Regions from separate parts of the Homo sapiens genome. Here all the other regions are linked to region 1. The links are contacts of gene promoters, found by promoter capture Hi-C in blood cells and fetal thymus (Javierre and others, 2016). All regions are on one chromosome and are shown on one strand. The core of a region is centred on a gene start or on the middle of the fragment in contact, and the rest is flanking DNA. Distances in the headings are between cores, read along the strand shown.

Evidence for each region. Contacts are between HindIII fragments. The CHiCAGO score rates a contact against its expected background, and 5 or more counts as called.
Region 2: a fragment that was not itself captured here is called in contact with the fragment with the promoter of C5orf67 in region 1 in 2 of 17 cell types (total B cells and naive B cells); the score reaches 6.1 in total B cells.
Region 3: a fragment that was not itself captured here is called in contact with the fragment with the promoter of C5orf67 in region 1 in 2 of 17 cell types (naive B cells and total B cells); the score reaches 5.7 in naive B cells.

What each region holds. Positions count from the first base shown.
Region 1 is chr5:56,604,928-56,607,719 of GRCh38, forward strand. It overlaps C5orf67 (chromosome 5 putative open reading frame 67), which reads right to left and starts at 1,329. Exons shown (of 6, transcript NR_161255.1): 1 at 1,095-1,329. The HindIII fragment of the contact is 384 bases long and covers 988-1,371 here.
Region 2 is chr5:56,664,995-56,667,786 of GRCh38, forward strand. No RefSeq gene overlaps it. Among named protein-coding and RNA genes, the nearest start is that of C5orf67, 60 kb to the left of the region's middle. The HindIII fragment of the contact is 5,387 bases long and covers 1-2,792 here.
Region 3 is chr5:56,645,032-56,647,823 of GRCh38, forward strand. No RefSeq gene overlaps it. Among named protein-coding and RNA genes, the nearest start is that of C5orf67, 40 kb to the left of the region's middle. The HindIII fragment of the contact is 3,931 bases long and covers 1-2,792 here.

The DNA.
Region 1 (2,792 bases), core at 79-2,578:
GATGGCTTGGCTGCCTCCTTGGTTATAGGTGAGGAAACAGGCGAATGGTGAAATGACTTAACCAAAGTTCCCAGAGCTGGCACATTTATAGCTGAGATCTCCCAATACTGTTGTCTTACTCCTGCACGCAAAAATTAGTGGATGTTTTGTTCTTTTTTTGTCTTTCAAAGGACTTGGTTTCATTGTTAAAAGAAACCTCACTGCAAGTTACCAAGCTGTCAAACCCTGAGGCGGGATGAGCCACTATTTTTCAAATCCGTGCACCAGTAGTGCTTCTGTGACATCACCCAACACAGAATATCTTAAAATCGATTTCAGGAATGGATCTCGTAACCAAAAAACAGCTTGTTCAGAAAGGGGCACCTATGCACGTAGCAGATGCCTTCTATCTGGTCTCCATCTTCTATCAGGTCTCCCTTTCTCTCTCTTTATTACTGCCCCCCACCTCTGGGAAACTGCCACACCCAGCCACTAAGACCAAGACTTTGCGCACTAAGACTGTGTCGACAGATAAGCAGAAAAGTACAGCACTAGTTTCATCTAGTGTTCTGCCCTGTGTTTCAGTTGAGAGAAATTTCACACATATACACAGACACAGACACACACACACATACTCTCTCTCTCTCTCTTCCTAAGAAATGAATATAGAGCAGCTAAAACCAGATAAGTTCTAGATCCCTGAGGCTTGAGACCCAAGCCTGAGACTGTTCTTAATTGGCCTCATTGACAGCAGATGCCCAGCTCCTCTGCCCCACTCTCTAGGATCCTGCACAGATGTGGCCAAATTCTTCCCCACCAAACCAGCTTTAGACTCTCCTGGGCCTGGCGATCCATGCCTTCTTCTTCACCCCTCTCCTGAAGATTCCTGTGACTATGGGTCTGGAAGCCCTTTCTGCCAAGACACCACTTTCCTCTTCTGGTCTCATTTGGTTTGTCTGACCCTTGGCTGGTTCTAATCCTTGGTGGATTCCTTCACATACTGCTCTAAGCTTGCCCTTTGACTGCATTACCTCGAGCCTTTCTACAAGGCACCAGCTCTATTTCCTGGCCAGAAGTAGAAATTCCCTCCCCCGCTGCGCAGAAGTCCCACTCACAGAATTCGGCTTCATTGCTTCTCTGCCTCTCCAGCTCCATTCCTCGAAGAGCAGAGATGACAAGATGTAGGTTCTGTGTATGCATCCATGTTCTCACTGATGGCTCAGCCAGCATCTCTAAAGTTTTTTTTAATGATTAAGGGCCTTTGGGTTCCCCTGTGGCACTTCCTTGGAGGTAAGGGCTCAGGTGAAGTTGTTCATTTGGCTGTTGATCCCAGGGGAGCACAGGGAATATGAAACAGGGAAGAGAGGAAAGCTAATAAAGAATGTGTTAAGAAGCTTTGGGCAATCAGGGCTTCCTCTAGCAGGAAACCCTTAGGAGACTGCAGAACATTCCTTGGAATGAGGGCAAGGACTTTGGATTATTTATCCAGCCAGGACTTTCCCTCTTTGGCCAAGGGTCATTCCTTGGGCAATAATTCCCTGGCACTTGCAGACTAACCTGTGTGCTTCCAAGCTCATTTCTTTTTTCTTTTTTCCTTTTGTCTTTTTTTTTTTTTGAGATGGAGTCTTGCACTGTTGCCCACGTTGGAGTGCAATGGTGCGATCTCGGCTCACTGCAACCTCTGCCTCCTGGGTTCAAGTGATTCTTCTGCCTCAGCCTCCTGAGTAGCTGGGATAACAGGTGCCCGCCACCACACCCAGCTAATTTGTTGTGTTTTTAGTAGAGATGGGGTTTCACTATATTGGCCAGGCTGGTCTTGAACTCCTGACCTTGTGATCCGCCTGCCTCGGCCTCCCAAAGTGCTGGGATTACAGGTGTGAGCCACCATACCCAGCCGCTTCCAAGCTCATTTCTATGGCTGAAGAATGCCCTCAGGCAGAGAGAAGCAGGAGGTTGTCTGTCTACACAGCATGTGACTACAGCCAAACTCTGGGGTGGCCAAGGGGACATGGGTTGGACACCAACAGCGTCTGCTACAAAAGTGGTTGTTGCCACCCCTCAGAATCCCCCTCTCTGTGTGATCTTCCAGATTCAATGTAATACGTACTGAATGCTGCCAAATATAATGTACCAGACTAGACTCAGGTAATCACAAAGATGTGTAAGACAGAGTTCTTCTCCACACAGAACTTTCAATTTGATGTAAGAGACAAACAGAAATAAAAGTCTTTATAGAAAAGTAAGTCTTTATAGAATAAAGAAGAATATGAGAAGGGCTGTATTAGAGCCATGAATCACTGGCTGTGAGAGCTGCGGGAAGATGAGATTAATTTTGACTAGAGGGAGAAGGCTATCAGGGCAGTTTTCCAAAGCTAAAATATTTTAAACATATGCTAAATCGACAGACATCCAATTCCCACCAAGAGCAAAAGAATAAACATTCTTTCGCAGGGCCCTAAAGCCAGAAAGCAGTGAAAGAATTAGAACCATTTTATCTCAATTCACAAAAGGAAATAAGTGACATCTTTCAGTATCACCCCATCTTCTAGATGCAACGTTTAAAACCAAGTCACAAGAGCAAGATGTTCTTCCTGCTCCACGTTCAACTATGCATTTGAAATCTGTTCTCATTTGTCGAAATGAGCAATTAATTAACAGTCTTTGTGAAGTTCTCAGACTCAACAAGTGTGCCCCTCTCCTGCTGCCTCTGCCACAGGCAGCCACTTTGCATGTCCCTGCTTTTGAAAGACAACTTAGGAATGAAGCTAAACGAGACATCAGCAGTTTTCCAAATCCAGGTGAAGAAAGTGAAT
Region 2 (2,792 bases), core at 157-2,656, 60 kb after region 1:
ACTATTGATGGGCACCTAGGTCGATTCCATGTCTTTGGAATTGTGAGTAGTGCAATGAATATGTGAGTACATGTGCCTTTTTTGTAGTACAATTTATTTTCCTTTGGGTGTATACCCATAATACAGTTGCTGGGTTGAATGGTAGTTCCGTTTTAAGTTGTTTGAGAAATCTCCACACTGCTTTCCACAGTGGCTGAACTAATTTACATTTCCACCAACAACGTATAAGCATTCCCTTTTCTCTGCAGGTTCACTAGCATCTGTTTTTTGACTTTTCAATAATGGCCATTGTGACTGGTGTGAGATGGTATTTCATTGTGGTTTTGATTTGCATTTCTCTGATGATTCATGATGTGGAGCATTTTTGCATACGTTTGTTGGCTGATTGTATGTCTTCTTTTGAGAAGTGTCTGTTCATGTCCTTTTCCCACTTTTTCATGGGTTTTTCTTTTGCTTGTTGAGTTGTTTAAGTTCCTTATAAATTCTGTATATCAGACCTTTGTCAGATACATAGTTTACAAACACTTTCTTCCATTCTTTAGGGTGCCTGTTTACTCTTTTGATAGTTTCTTTTGCTGTGCAGAAGCTCTTTAGTTTAATTAGGTCTCACTTGTCAATTTTGTTTTTGTCGCAATTGCTTATGACTTGGGCATAAATTCTTTCCCAAGACTGATGTCCAGAATGGTGCTCCTAGGATTTCTTCTGGGATTTTTATAATTTAAATATAATCTTATATTTAAATCTTTAACCCATCATTAATTAGTTTTTGCATATAGTTAAAGGTAGGAGTCCAGTTTCAATTTTCTGCATATGAAGCTATTCCAGTACCATTTGTTGAATAAGGAGTCCTTGTTTATTTTTGTTAACTTCATCAAAGATCAGAAGGTTATAGGTGTACGCCTTTATTTCTGGGTTCTCTATTCTGTTCCATTGGTCTTTGTATCTGTTTTTGTACCCAGTAGCATGCCATTTTGATTAATGTAGCCTTATAGTATAGCTGAAAGTCGGGGAATGTGATGCCTCCGGCTTTGTTGTTTTGGGGGTTTAGGATTGCTTTGGCTGTTTGGGCTCTTTTTTGGTTCCATATGAGTTTTAGAATAGTTTTTTCTAGTTTTGTGAAAATGACATTTGTAGTGTGATAGGAATAGCATTGAATCTGTAGATTGCTTTGGATAGTATTTGCCCATGTCTTTTAAAGCCCACTGGGTAACCATTATCTTTTATGACCATGAAAATCATTCAGATTTACTTACAGAGACACTGGCCTGGCAGATGCAAGTCTGTTTTCAGGCTGGAGTTTACCCTAATCCCAGGGAAATATCCCCTTGCACATGATTCAGCTCAAACCTCACTCATGTAACCCTCCATGCCCCTACCCCATGTTCCCTTCCCACTGTGCAGCTGATCGCGTTCTCCACCTCCAGCCTATAATGCTTCGTACAAACCTTTTTTAGTCCTTCTCACATCTGTATGAGTCAGGTCTCAGAAACCTCATACTGAAGAGTGTTTAAAACAGAGACTCTTTACAAAGAAGCAGAGTATAAGGAGACTACAAAAGTTAGTACATACCGCTGGGCAAATTAAGAGGAGCTCTATTACTATCCCTAGGCTGGAAAGGTAAGAGGAAGAAGTAGTTCTCAGAGCTTGGAGGGAGAAGAAGAGGGATGCTTCACAGGAACTGCAACCTTGAGTAGAGGAATGTAGCCAGTCTGGAGCAAACCCTCAGGAAAGGAGCCACTGGAAAAGCCCTGAGTTTGGCTCTTCCTCCCTCCTTCCAATTATCTGCTGGTGCTGGAGGGAACTCCAGCTGGAATCCAGGGTCAAGGGAGCCCTTTCCTGTGGTCCATACAGGGCAGCCTCCAAGGGAAGAAAGTGGACCTTTCCCTTGGAGGGACAAACCAAAGACTGGCCACAACAACGTACTGTCGTGATTGATTCGCAGGCATGCCAAGTGTCTGCTGCCTAAGAGATTCCCTTTAATTTTACAAAACACTAGAGCTCAAGGCTGCACCCTCTGTACTTCAGAATATCCAGAGCCACCCACCCACGCAGTCCTCTCCCTTCTCCTGAGGCGGTCCTTGCTACATCCTTCCTGGTTTCTACATCTTTCCTACTCTCTCATTAGCCCACTTCCTGGACATGCTGGACAACACCCTTCTTCCGTCCTATTTCTCAACTCAGCATAAATTCAAGGGTTATTGTATGTATCAGATTTCTAACTGAAGGATAGTGGGTAAAGGGGGATAAAAGGCAACACAGAGTGAGGAACAACTTCAAAACCCTTATTAGATACCTCTTTCATAAATATTCACAAACCATTCTCCACTATGAAGACTTTCTCAGCTATGTACCACCATCTTCTAGAAACCCAGGCTCCTTCCACAGACTTCTTTTTTCCCTCTATTGACAGCCTTCTAAAACCCTAAATTCTGTTCTACTCTTTTTTTGTCTAAACTTTATTATTTTAATATTTATATTTTAGCATAAAATTTTATATTTCAATATAAAATATTACATTAATATTAATATTAAAATAGTTTACTATTTTAATGCAATTGTCTTTAAAATCAAATTGGCAAGTTTTTTTAATGTTCTTTTTTAAAAACTTTTTCATTTCAATAGTTTTTTGGGGGAAAAGGGGTGTTTGGTTACACAAATAAGTTCTTTAGTGGTGATTTCTGAGATTTTGGTGCACCCATCACCCAAGCAGTGTACACTGTACCCTATGTGTAGTCTGTTATACCTCGCCACCCCCCCATCCCTTGGTGACAATGGCTTTATAGTACAGTTTG
Region 3 (2,792 bases), core at 194-2,693, 40 kb after region 1:
TCTTAAAGATAAAAAAAAAATCTGGAAAGTGGTATCTTGAAATCATTGTGGTAAACATTTCTCTTTGGCCCTAAGACCAATTTTGAGACAATTACATTTTTATTTTACCAGGTGGTAAGGCAGTTAAGAGTGGGGACCTGCCAGCACCCATTCTTTTGTCCTACAGAGCATATAGCTGTGCTGTGTACAGAAAAGCCAATTGTAAATATTTGTCAAATTGAATTTCCAAGTCAGGGCATATTAATATACTCTGTTAATTATCACATTAAAACCTAAACAGGTGGTAAATTTAGATGAGATGCAGAGAAAAATGCAAAACCAGCTAAGAGCTCAAACGGACTAGGAAATACCTAAAAGATTGGGGAGAAAAGCAAAGGTTTGCTCAGAAGAGATGAACAGGAAGTTTTAGGAAACTTCAAATATCTAAAACACAGGGATGATTTCTTTGCACATACCTGGAAAACCAAATTAGGGGAAATCAACTTAAGGTGTAGAAGGAGCGATTTCGATACCAAGGCATTTGGAATGTACTCTTGAATAAAATTATGTTTTTTAATGTTTTCTTTCATATGCTGCTCTTTAAATGGTTCTGTGAAATAGCATGGAAGCAGAGTCATGGGTTCAGTGACACATTCAGTAGCCCTGGGCTGAAAGAACTGTGTAAGGCCCACTCCCCCACCCCACCCCACCAACCCTGCCAATCCACAAGAGCACTGATACCTTCTGAGAAGGGGCTCCTTCTCAATGGGGTTCATGCAGATTATACCTGGAATCAGGATTCTGAACAACTCCTTCATGAACCGCTCTGCTCATGACCCAGGTTGGGAAAGAGGCCCATCTGTCTGCTAGAATCAGCGGGAAACAGTGATGGTAAAGGCATGAGCCAAAGGTTCTGAAGGTGGGAAAATGTACACACACAAGACTCGCTGCCTGACTCCTTGGACAAAGACAGATGCTGGCTTGGTGTGATTTAAGGGACACCAAGATAATTCGCCAAATCTCTTTCCTATCAACAAGAAAAACAAGCAACGCAGTATAATGAAGAGAGGATTGTGCTAGGCCTGGGGAGGTCCGAGTCCAAATCTTGGTTCCATGTTATATTGATCTAGCTACTTCACCTTTCTGGGACTCAGTTTCCTCATAACAAGTTATTCTGAGGACTAAATGAGATCATGTATTAAGTACCTGGTACAATAGTAGCCACACAGTACACGCTCATTCTGTGGTAGCTTCTATTCTGCAACAGCAGGGACCTGCTTTTGACCTAAGCATTGTTAGGTTGTCACTATTGCCCTTCTGTAAATGAAAGTATAACAAGGAGTTGCTCTGCACACCCATAGATAAATACACAGGTAAGTTAACTTCTGTTGCTTGGAACTCAAAATCTTTTTTTTTTTTTTTTTGAGACGGAGTCTCGCTCTGTCGCCCAGGCTGGAGTGCAGTGGCGCGATCTCTGCTCACTGCAAGCTCCGCCTCCCAGGTTCACGCCATTCTCCTGCCTCAGCCTCCCGAGCAGCTGGGACTACAGGGAAACTCAAAATCTTAGTAGGAAAATCCTCAGCTTGCTTTGTCAACCTAGGAAAGGAAGTTCACCAGGAAAGTATAAAAGAGGGTGGTTCCCAGAAAATTAAATCACTTCAGCAGAATTTGAGGTATAAAATGAAGCACTGAAGAAAACGGATGCTTTTATTTCTCCATATAATGGAATTCAGAAGTTCTGCACATACATCGAAGAATATTTTAAGAATAACAATTATTCACCTGGACACTTCCAGACAAAACCAAAGGTTTGAATCCATGCTGGCATAGAAGACACAAGAAAGGGAAATCACAAATGACACAGTGGGAGCACAGGAGTCTCACTCTCAGCGGGCCTGTGGCCAGTGACATTCTTCAGTTTTCCTTGCCATTGTCTGCTGCCCAATCAGCTCTACTTGGTAGAAGGAGCTGGCCACTGGATCCAGATGGAGCTGCTGGGAATGAATGCCACACTGGGCAAGCAGGGCCCTGTGGTTCCATAGGGAGGCGAGAGTACCAGGACTGCTCAGTGGAGAAGATGGGCACAAATTGAAACAAACCAAACTGCTTGACTGAATGCTGCTGCCCAGAAATATAATTGAGGGAGGCTAGGATTGGAGTGGGAATCAGTGAACCTGGTTAGAGCTTTCTGGGGTAACTCAGAGGAAAAATTATGCAAAGTGAGTTGGGCAAATTAACTGTAGGAACTACCCTGATTTAGCAAGAGATAAGATAGGGAGGAGTCTAGAGCAGAGAATGGAAAAAACAGGCAAAGCAAGGCCCCGTGCACAGGGCCCAGGCTGCCTCACCCAGACAGCTTCAGGAACTTGGATAGGAATACTAGAGATAAAGCATATTCTAGTCCCCAGGACCTGGGGCCTCAGTTCGAAACCTTTCTCTGTCTCTTTTTTTGCATGTAAATATAAAACAATGGCTGGCCACTAATGGTTGTTTCTCCCCAAAGTAAAACACAGACAAAGAAAACAAAAAGTTCCACCAGCCAGACGTAAACTAATGATATATGTTCCAGGTAAGTGGTTATCTGCAAATCTGTCTTAGATCAAAGAATTCTCTCTCTCTTTTTTATTTTTGGTCTGTGAACAGGCAGGAAAAACTGGGGTTTCCCAGGCATGCACACTTACTTGCTGCTCAAAGAAACACTCAATCTGTTAGAACTTTTTGATGGCATGTGAGGCCTAGGGTGTGATTTCCATTATCTATTAAATGGTAAGTACGTAATAAGCATAGTAGATTTACAGTAGAGTCTATCTCAG